Regions from separate parts of the Homo sapiens genome. Here region 1 is linked to region 2. The links are contacts of gene promoters, found by promoter capture Hi-C in blood cells and fetal thymus (Javierre and others, 2016). All regions are on one chromosome and are shown on one strand. Each heading gives the region's core, a stretch centred on a gene start or on the middle of the fragment in contact. The rest is flanking DNA. Distances are from core to core; before and after follow the strand shown. Region 1 has its middle 99 kb from the start of TMEM45B. Region 2 holds the start of BARX2 (BARX homeobox 2).

The links. The method cuts DNA at HindIII sites, captures the fragments that hold promoters and counts their contacts. A CHiCAGO score of 5 or more calls a contact.
Region 1: a fragment that was not itself captured here is called in contact with the fragment with the promoter of BARX2 in region 2 in 1 of 17 cell types (endothelial precursors); the score reaches 5.7 in endothelial precursors.

Annotation. Positions count from the first base shown.
Region 1 is chr11:129,714,565-129,720,030 of GRCh38, reverse strand. No RefSeq gene overlaps it. Among named protein-coding and RNA genes, the nearest start is that of TMEM45B, 99 kb to the left of the region's middle. The HindIII fragment of the contact is 3,568 bases long and covers 159-3,726 here.
Region 2 is chr11:129,372,644-129,378,444 of GRCh38, reverse strand. BARX2 (BARX homeobox 2) reads right to left here and starts at 2,597. Exons shown (of 4, transcript NM_003658.5): 1 at 2,223-2,597. The coding sequence starts at 2,409. The HindIII fragment of the contact is 13,394 bases long and covers 1-5,801 here.

The sequences.
Region 1 (5,466 bases), core at 693-3,192, 340 kb before region 2:
AACATGAAATCTTCGAAGGATCATTACCAACTCTGATTTATTGATGACTAGGAAGGAAGGTCTAGGAAGAGAGTGATCGGTTACATCATTGAACGCTCATGGAGGGTTTAAAAGCTAATCCTGTGTGTGTACATCTTTTTTTTTTATTTCAGAAAGCTTAATACCTGTGTCAGATGTCCTCTTGGAAGCCATGGAAACCCTGTTGGCTATGCAGACAAAGAGGCTGGCCCCAGGAAGGTTGTAGGACAGCAGGGCTGGGATCTTTCCATACCTTCTAGATCAGTATTTCTCTATCTCAGTTACACTGTCAAATGGTCACCAGCTCAATTCTTCACCTAAGACAAGAGAAATGAGGAAAGGTGAGGAAGAAAAGGGAACTAGGAGATTCCCCCAAACAGCTCTCTTTAAAAGGAGGTGAACGACAGAGGCGGAAAGGATAGGGTGGCAGGGTCTTTCTGACGTACTGTTTCAGAGCTTGGGAGATCTATTGTAGCACCAGTACATTGATAGGGGTGGCTCAGTGATTGCCAAATACCCACCTGCCACTGTTGGCATCCTTGTCATTAAGACAGAAATTAGCCCAGTTCAACCTGGGTTCTGTGTGGGAAGCTGCTTACATGGTTTCCCTACTCTGGGTCTGAGGACATCCACCCTTCATCAAGTACTGGTCATCCTGTCTAAAGATACCTAGAAAAGTTCTTCAATTCACTACATTAAGAAGATTCCAGGAGGGTTTGTGGAGAATGACAGCCCACTCTCTGTGCTGAGCATTTGCGTAGGCAGTGGTGAGCTGGGGCGGCTCACACCCACTCATGAGAGCCAACTGGGAACATCTCTGCCGAACTCTGCATCAGTGACCTCACTGTGGTTGCTTGAAATTGGCCATGGTGGGAGTTTTAAAAATTTATGTATATTTTTCCAGCTTTATTGAGGTATAATTGACAATACATATATATGTATGTAATATATACATATATAATTGACATCTACATATATAATTGACATATATATACAAATAAAAATTGTATATATTTAAGGTGTGTAATGTAATGATTTGATATAAGTATACATTGTAAAATGATTACCACAATCAAGCTAATTAACCCATCCATCACCATTATAGCAACTATTTTTCTTTGTAATGGAAATACAATACTTAAGATCTACTCTTTTAGTGAATTTCAAGTATACAATACATTATTATTGACTATAGGATAGTCACCATGCTGTCAGGATGGTGACTCCGGAACTTATTCATTTTTTAACTGCAAGTGTGTACACTTTGACCAACATCTTCCCAGTTTCCCCAAGCCCCAGCCCTTTCCCTGTTCTCTTGTCTGTGCCTATGAGTTTGGCTTTTTTAAAAAATTTATTATACTTTAAGTTTTAGGGTACATGTGCACAACGTGCAGGTTTGTTACATATGTATACATGTGCCATGTTGGTGTGCTGCACCCATTAACTCATCATTTAACGGTAGGTATATCTCCTAATGCTATCCCTCCCCTGTCCCCCAACCCCACAACAGGCTCTGGTGTGTGATGTTCCCCTTCCTGTGTCCATGTGTTCTCATTGTTCAATTCCCACCTATGAGTGAGAACATGCGGTGTTTGGTTTTTTGTCCTTGCGATAGTTTGCTGAGAATGATGGTTTCCAGCTTCATCCGTTTCCCTACAAAGGACATGAACTCATCCTTTTTTATGGCTGCATAGTATTCCGTGGTATATATGTGCCACATTTTCTTAATTCAGTCTATCATTGTTGGACATTTGGCTTGGTTCCAAGTCTTTGCTGTTGTGAATAGTGCCACAATAAACATACGTGTGCATGTGTCTTTATAGCAGCATGATTTATAATCCTTTGGGTATATACCCAGTAATGGGGTTGCTGGGTCAAATAGTATTTCTAGTTCTAGATCCCTGAGGAATCGCCACACTGACTTCCACAATGGTTGAACTAGTTTACAGTCCCACCAACAGTGTAAAAGTGTTCGTATTTCTCCACATCCTCTCCAGCACCTGTTGTTTCCTGACTTTTTAATGACTGTCATTCTAACTGGTGTGAGATGCTATCTCATTGTGGTTTTGATTTGCATTTCTCTGATGGCCAGTGATGATGAGCATTTTTTCATGTGTCTTTTGGCTGCATAAATGTCTTCTTTTGAGAAGTGTCTGTTCATATCCTTCGCCCACTTGTTGATGGGGTTGTTTTTTTCTTGTAAATTTGTTTGAGTTCATTGTAGATTCTGGATATTAGCCCTTTGTCAGATAAGTAGATTGCACAAATTTTCTCCCATTCTGTAGGTTGCCTGTTCACTCTGATGATAGTTTCTTTTGCTGTGCAGAAGCTCTTTAGTTTAATTAGATCCCATTTGTCAATTTTGGCTTTTGTTGCCATTGCTTTCGGTGTTTTAGACATGAAGTCCTTGCCCATGCCTATGTCCTGAATGATATTGCCTAGGTTTTCTTCTAGGGTTTTTATGGTTTTAGGTCTTACATTTAAGTCTTTAATCCTCTTGAATTAATTTTTGTATAAAGTGTAAGGAAGGAATCCAGTTTCAGCTTTCTACATATGGCTAGCCAGTTTTCCCAGGACCATTTATTAAATAGAGAATCCTTTGCCCATTTCTTGTTTTTGTCAGGTTTGTCAAAGATCAGATGGTTGTAGATATGTGGCATTATTTCTGAGGGCTCTGTTCTGTTCCATTGATCTGTATCTCTGTTTTGGTACCAGTACCATGCTGTTTTGGTTACTGTAGCCTTGTAGTATAGTTTGAAGTCAGGTAGCACGATGCCTCCAGCTTTGTTCTTTTGGCTTAGGATTGACTTGGCAATGTGGGCTCTTTTTTGGTTGCATATGAACTTTAAAGTAGTTTTTTCCAATTCTGTGAAGAAAGTCATTGGTAGCTTGATGGGGATGGCATTGAATCTATAAATCACCTTGGGCAGTATGGCCATTTTCACGATATTGATTCTTCCTACCCATGAGCATGGAATGTTCTTCCATTTGTTTGTATCCTCTTTTATTTCATTGAGCAGTGGTTTGTAGTTCTCCTTGAAGAGGTCCTTCACATCCCTTGTCAGTTGGATTCCTAGGTATTTTATTCTCTTTGAAGCAATTGTGAATGGGAGTTCACTCATGATTTGGCTGTTTGTCTGTTATTGGTGTATAAGAATGCTTGTGATTTTTGCACATTGTTTTTGTATCCTGAGACTTTGCTGAAGTTGCCTATCAGCTTAAGGAGATTTTGGGCTGAGACGATGGGGTTTTCTAGATATACAATCATGTCATCTGCAAACAGGGACAATTTGACTTCCTCTTTTCCTAATTGAATACCCTTTATTTCTTTCTCCTGCCTGATTGTCCTGGCCAGAACTTCCAACACTATGTTGAATAGGAGTGGTGAGAGAGGGCCTCCCTGTCTTGTGCCCGTTTTCAAAGGGAATGCTTCCAGTTTTTGCCCATTCAACATGATATTGGCTGTGGGTTTGTCATAGATAGCTCTTATTATTTTGAGATACGTCCCATCGATACCTAATTTATTGAGAGTTTTTAGCATGAAGGGCTGTTGAATTTTGTCAAAGGCCTTTTCTGCATCTATTGAGATAATCATATGATTTTTGCTGTTGGTTGTGTTTATATGCCGGATTACGTTTACTGATTTTCATATGTTGAACCAGCCTTGCATCTCAGGGATGAAGCCCGCTTGATCATGGGGGATAAGCTTTTTGATGTGCTGCTGGATTTGGTTTGCCAGTATTTTATTGAGGATTTTCACATCGATGTTCATCAGGGATATTGGTCTAAAATTCTCTTTTTTTGTTGTGTCTCTGCCAGGCGTTGGTATCGGGATGATGCTGGCCTCATAAAATGAGTTAGGGAGGATTCCCTCTTTTTCTGTTGATTGCAATAATTTCAGAAGGAATGGTACCAGCTCCTCCTTGTACCTCTGGTAGAATTCGGCTGTGAATCTATCTGGTCCTGGACTTTTTTGGTTGGTAAGCTATTAATTATTGCCTCAATTTCAGCTCCTGTTATTGGTCTATTCAGAGATTCAACTTCTTCCTGGTTTAGTCTTGGGAGGGTGTATGTGTCGAGGAATTTATCCATTTCTTCCAGATTTTCTAGTTTATTTGTATAGAGGTGTTTACAGTATTCTCTGATGGTAGTTAGTATTTCTGTGGGATTGGTGGTGATATCCCCTTTATCATTTTTTATTGCATCTATTTGATTCTTCTCTCTTTTCTTCTGTATTAGTCTTGCTAGCGGTCTATCAATTTTGTTGATCTTTTCAAAAAACCAGCTCCTGGATTCATTGATTTTTTGAAGGGTTTTTTGTGTCTCCATTTCCTTCAGTTCTGCTCTGATCTTATTATTTCTTGCCTTCTGCTAGCTTTTGAATGTGTTTGCTCTTGCTTCTCTAGTTCTTTTAATTGTGATGTTAGGGTGTCAATTTTAGATCTTTCCTGCTTTCTTTTGAGGGCATTTAGTGCTGTAAATTTCCCTCTACACACTGCTTTGAATGTGTCCCAGAGGTTCTGGTATGTTGTGTCTTTGTGCTCATTGGTTTCAAAGAATATCTTTATTTCTGCCTTCATTTCGTTATGTACCTAGTAGTCATTCAGGAGCAGGTTGTTCAGTTTCCATGTAGTTGAGCGGTTTTGAGTTAGTTTCTTAATCCTGAGTTCTAGTTTGATTGCACTGTGGTCTGAGAGACAGTTTGTTATAATTTCTGGTCTTTTTACAGTTGCCGAGGAGTGCTTTACTTCCAACTACGTGGTCAGTTTTGGAATAGGTGTGGTGTGGTGCTGAAAAGAATGTATATTCTGTTGATTTGGGGTGGAGAGTTCTGTAGATGTCTATTAGGTCCGCTTGGTGCAGGGCTGAGTTCAATTCCTGGATATCCTTTTTAACTTTCTGTCTCGTTGATCTGTCTAATGTTGACAGTGGGGTGTTAAAGTCTCCGGTTATTATTGTGTGGGAGTCTGAGACTCTTTGTAGCTCTCTTAGGACTTGCTTTATGAATCTGGGTGCTCCTGTATTGGGTGCATATATAGTTAGGATAGTTAGCTCTTCTTGTTGAATTGATCCCTTTACCATTATGTAATGGCCTTCTTTGTCTCTTTTGATCTTTGTTGGTTTAAAGTCTGTTTTATCTGAGACTAGGATTGCAACCCCTGCCTTTTTTTGTTTTCCATTTGCTTAGTAGATCTTCCTCCATCCCTTCATTTTGAGCCCACTTGTGCCTCTGCACATGAGATGGGTTTCCTGAATACAGCACACTGGTGGGTCTTGACTCTTTATCCAATTTGCCAGTCTGTGTCTTTTAATTGGAGCATTTAGCCCATTTACATTTAAGGTTAATATTGTTATGTGTGAATTTGATCCTGTCATTATGATGTTAGCTGGTTATTTTGCTCGTTAGTTGATGCAGTTTATTCCTAGCCTCAATGGTCTTTACAATTT
Region 2 (5,801 bases), core at 1,348-3,847:
ACCTTAACTGTTAAAAACAAAAATGCTTTGAAAGTATGGTATTTGCAAAACCCCTGAGAAGACACTAATGGGATTCCCATGATCTAATACATGTAAGGCTTTAACTGTAACTGTAAACCCACTGAAGGCTTATGATCTGAAAGTATGAACTATTGTAGCCAGTTTTTATGGGTTTAATTCCACCAGCAAATCCCAGTTTCTATATTTTAATTCTCAACTAGAGCAAAATAACGACACATTTTCAACTAACAATCCGAAAGAAGAAAGTACTGGAATAACGGAGCCAGAAAACCATTGCCAACAGCCACCCTCTACCACGAACCATCAGTGAACTTCGAAAAGCACAAGACTGAGCAACACTTAAGTCTGTGAAATACGTGCATTTCACTTATAACACTCACAAAACTACATATGAATCATTTTTTTTTCCTCTGATTTATTTCCCACACAAGGTTCAATAAAACACGACACTTACTCAGCCACCTCTGACTGAATGACTATTCTCTGCAGCTATTTATTACTCCTCTTCTGCCACGTTTTCTTCTATGATCCAATTCTGTGACTCCTATAAGCCAGGAAAAGCTGCCTTCAAGTCAACACAGCACAAAGTCACTGAAAATTCTGCCGGCACTAGGCTCTACCTAGGTGCTTAGAAGTTGTTCTGTTTTGTCCTGGGAATGTCCCATACGCAATGTTAATGACTGAAACAGATCCTCTCTTTTTCCTCGAAGGGAATTGAGTTATTATAACAAAGGATGATTTGTGCTCAAAACAATATTCAACTTATCACCCCTATTCAGTATGTATGTGTCCAAGGGTCCACAACCACCTATACACAAATGTAAAAATATCAGTTCTCAGGAGATCTATCTTGTTTCTAAAATTTCTTATTTGTTCCTTGTTTCATATATTTCTTGGTTTTAAAAATTCAGTATTACAAGGCTTGTTATGGGACATCAGGCCTAATTCTACCTTACAGACAAATTAACTTTAAAAAGGCATAACTGAATACAGTATACATTTTACAACCAAATACATGTAGGAACAATTTGGTTTTAAAAGAACTTCACTGTATGTATTTATCATATGTTTACTGATTGTCATATAGGGACTATCAATGGAACCAAGAGAAAATACAGGATTCCACGCATTGAGCATTAACAACTCAAATGTTCCAAAAAATATCTTCCAAAACTGTTGGCCCTTCATTTTTTCATTTTAAGTGTAATTTAATTTATCTCATGCCTCTCATGCAACTAACAATCTCAAAGGTTCTTTTGGTTTGGAAATACTTTATGCTTACCTTTAATGGAAAGCACACTCAATAACTTTTTTCTGATAAAAAGTGCTCCTACTTCTTTTTCGTTTTATTATACCCATGTTCCATAACCTAAATCCTAACAATGCCGAGATACTTTGAAACTTGGATCTTCTCTTAATGCATTCAAAATTTTAAAAGTACCTTGGATTTATTTTCGATAGAAACTCTACTACGTTTTCAATATATGTATTAAGTTCTCTTTATCTTTACTATTGCTCTTACCTCCCGTGAAGAGAGAAAACCAGGTGTGAGTAATGTTTTCATTGTTACCATTGCTGGTTTTGGTCACTTAAGACAAACGAGGGTGACCTTTTCGGCTTGACTTAAGACAAACGAGGGTGACCTTTTCGGCTTGTGCCACAAAGACAATGTACTTCAGAACTACTTTCTCAGAGGGCGATCATTGTAAGCAAAGCTCAGTGAATTCGAGATTTTGTTGAGAACCTCAGGATACTGATTTACTTGCAAAATTCACAGTGGAGACAGTAGGAGGCTGGACAAGTTAACTCAAGGTGAGATGCAAGGCCGCCAAGCTCAAGTTTGAAATTCACACACACCACCACTTCCTGAAACAACGATTTAGACGCTGAACCTGCTCAAGTGTTTGAACTTTCAGCAGGAAACGAGGAAGCGTTCTCCTCCGAGCAGGACAATCAGGCGTTGCGCGAGCAGCCCACTCCTAAGGCCCTGCCGCCTTTATTTCCACTCGTGCCATCCACACCTTGCGTGGTCCTTCCCGGCCACGTCGCAGATGCCTTTGCAATGCCCACCGCTTGCTGAGGCGCAGGAAAAGAATCCCTTAACTTAACCCTTCCTCTCGCCCTCGGATCGCAAAGCACAGGCCACCTACACGGACGTGAAAGCTACCGAACCCCACTTATCCCCTAGCGGAGCGTCTTACCCGTACAGGAATGCAGGGGCTTGGGTCGCACGACCAGCGACGGGCACACGGAGTAGAGGGAAAGTTTCTCAAAGTAATCGCAGGTCTCCTTGGAGAGGATCTCGTCGATCATGAAAGTCTTGTAGCGCCGCCTGGCTGCTTTGAGCTGGCCGGGCGAGCTCAGCCTCAGCTCGGCGTGGCAGTGCATGGTGAGCCGGCGCGAGCGTCCGCCGGCCCGAGCGCGGCTGCGAGTGCCCGGCCCGCTGGGGCCGCGGGGCTGGCGCGACGGCGGGGCCTGGGCCCCGCTCCCGGCAGCTGGGGAGGCGGCGGGGCTCGGGTGGCGCGCGGAGGAGAGCGGGTAGCGGGCGCGCCTGCCGCGCGTCTAGACCCACCCGCAGATCAGCATCTTCGCTGAGCCTTTTTGGGACAACGCAGCTGTCAATCAGCGCGAGCTTCCTGCAGGGCCGGGTGCGGAGTGTGTGCTGAGGGGCGTCCGCGCCCACCCCGCCCCCGCCCGCCCGTGCCACTCCGGCGCCGACCTGCGCGCCTAGTGCCCGGCGGCTCTCAGTCGCTGCCTCCCGCTCTGGTGTCTCGCGCTCCTCTGCCTGGCTCTCTATTTTAAGACGCTCGTTTTGGCTCTCCTCCCCCTCCCCCCCGGGACGCGCTCCAGGTGTGTGTGCAGGAGTGTGCGCGCGGTGCGGGGAGCGCGCACCGCCCCAGCCCGCGGCCAAGGCCCAGGCCGGTAGCTCCCCGGGGCAGTGTTCCCCATGAGCACCTTACTGCCTGTCCTGCCACCCGCCGGCCCGGCTCCCAGTGTCCGCAGCCCAGCGGGAGGGCACGTTCAGGTCTCTTACTAGAAAGAAGTCTAGTCCTCACTAGGCTCCCGGGACTTCGGGCCACAGAGCCAGTGCCCCCGAGGACCCACCGTGCCTTTCTCCTTCCCCGCGTGGACGGTTTCCCGAAGACCGCGGCTTCCCAAGCCCTCCACTCGCAGTCTCGCAGCCCGCGCTGAGCCTGCGCGCTCCGAGCGTAAGACTTTTGAGCTGAAGTTGCAAACTTGACTGCCCCAAGATCCCAAATCATAAATGACCCTGGCCCCGTCCGTTACCCTCATAAAAAACTGAGAAAAAAAAAAAGATAAGAAAAGAAAAACTAATAAAAGTGTGAGTTATCGCCGGGCGCGGTGGCTCAAGCCTGTAATCCCAACATTTGGGAGGCCGACGTGAGACGATAGCTTGAGGTCAGAGGTTCGAGACCAGCCTGGTCAATATAGGGAGACCCTGTCTTTACAAAAGAAAAATTAAAAACAGGCATGGTGGTGCACGCCTGTAGTCCCAGCTACTGGAGAGGTTGAGGCAAGAGGAAACCTGTAGTCCCAGCTATTGGAGAGGTTTAGGCAGGAGGAAATCTTGAGCCCAGGAGTTCGCGGCTGCAGTGAGCCGGGATCTCGTCACTGCACTCCAGCCTGGGCGACAAGAGCGAGATTCTGACTTTTTAAAAAAGTGTGCGGTTTTTTTTAAAACATTGTTTATAAAAACATTTTTTCCTCGTTGGAAAGGGTCAGAGCTGCACGATTCTAGGGAGCCGGCGGGCACTGGGGCAGCCTGTCCCATGCGGGCTTCTCCCAGCGCCCGAGTCTTCCGGCAAAGGGGCTTTCAATATCCGGATCCCTCGCGATACGACCGGGTTAGAGAGTCGCGAAGACAGGCGTTTATTGGGTGATTTGCCTTTTTCTTTCCAGGCTCTTAGTCTTAGGGTCTGTTCCAATCAAAATCTGTACGGACTTTAGTTGTTCATTGGAATTGCTGCGTAAAGGGGACCCCGCCGAGCCTCCGCGCCCGGGAAGCCTCCGGCAGCCTGAGTCGCGCCCGGTGTTCGGCGGGAACAGCCCAGTGCACGCCCGTTTCCACGACTTTATGTTGGAATGAGTGTGCATGGGGTTGGAAGGAAAACGCACGACAGGGACACTGAGAAGTATAGACGCGGATGGCCTTCCCTAGGGCCGAGTTTGGGGCCGGTGACATTTCCTCCCCGCTCCCAGCCTAGAAGCGTCCGCGAGTGCCGGCGGGCTCTCTGCGGAGCTGCTTGCCCAGGGGGCCCTGGTGGCCGCGGAAGCAAGTAAATGAGGGCGCCTGGGCCGGTGATTAAACTAGGAGGGAGGGACACGCCCAGAGGACTAATCATTAGGCTGTTAGAGAAAATAGATTTTTTCTTTTTTTTTTGAGACCGAGCCTCACTCTGTCGCCCAGGCTGGAGTGCAGTGGCGTGATCTCGCCTCATTGCAACCTCTGCCCCCCAGGTTCAAGCGATTCTCCTGCCTCAGTCTCCCGAGAAGCTGGGATTACAGGCGCCTGTCACCGCGCCCGGCTAACTTTTGTATTTTTTAGTAGAGACCAGGTTTCACCATCTTGGCCAGGCTGGTCTTGAACTCCTGACCTCGTGATTCACCCGCTTCGCCTCCCAAAGTGCTGGGATTACAGGCGTGAGAAAATAGATGTTAAGAGGCCAAGTCACAGCCTAGCATTAGACAAGGCCCGCAACGCGTCTTTGAGGAACTTCATTCCCGAAGTATTTGCAAACTGGCCTCCCCTCCCCTCCTCTCCATCTAGAATTGTTTTCTTTCATTCTCTTTCTCCATGCAGAGGCGGCTGCAGGGCAGGCGAGAACTGCTGCCAGGTGTCCGGGTGGCGCCGGGGGTCCTGCCGCCGGACTCTGGGGTCTACAGGCTGGCCCCAGGCGCGCCCCCTGCTTCCGCGGCGGGACCCTGAGGCTGGTCCGCGGTCAAAGCGCGGGACCCGGGACAGCTCACCGCTCAGCCCTGGCATCGCCGTCCGACGCCACGACGGAGGGGGTTCTCCCGGGCGCAAGCCGAGAGGGAAACCGCTGCGCCGAGTCGGGGCTGGGTCCCAGGGGCTCAGCGTTCGCTCCCGGGGCAATGCCGGGCGGGGAGCTTTAGGCGCCCCGAGGAAAGTGAGCCGCTGGTAGGCAGCCGCCAGTAAACTGAGTGCTTGCGGGCGATCTCACCCGCAGCGCCGACTACGAGGCGGGCTTGGAGCTGGGGACCAGCACCTGAGCGACAGCACCAGGACCCGACGCCCGACGAGGGGCCGAGCGCGTCGCGTCTATACTTTCTATCTGCCCGGCGTGTGCCCACAGAATGCGGCACTATTCGGGGCCCCGACTTTGCATTGCTCTTCTTTTCCTTAACCTCTTTTCTTCTCTCTGGTTCTTCCCCTTCCTTCCACCGCCACTGACTCCTCTCCTCTTCTTCCCTCCCACTTCTCCCTTCCCCGCATTGCTCCCCGCCCTTTGGGCCTCTCCTCCTCTGTCGAATTTCCCGCTTCTGTTTTCTCTCTTCTGCCCTCCCTTCTCCCCATCGTTCATCCTTGTTTTCTCTCTCTCTTTTTAACTTCCCTTCTCCTCCTCTCCTTCTTCCCTTTTTCCAAACCCGGGTCTGGACTCGCGTTCGCGTGTTCCTGGTCGCGGTGCTGCCCCTCGGAAGGCTGCAGGCGGCTCACGCGCAGGGACAGAGCCCAAGCCCGGGAGGGACCGGCCTCGCCTTGGCTGGCCGCGTCGCCCAGCGCTCTCACTCCTCTCCGC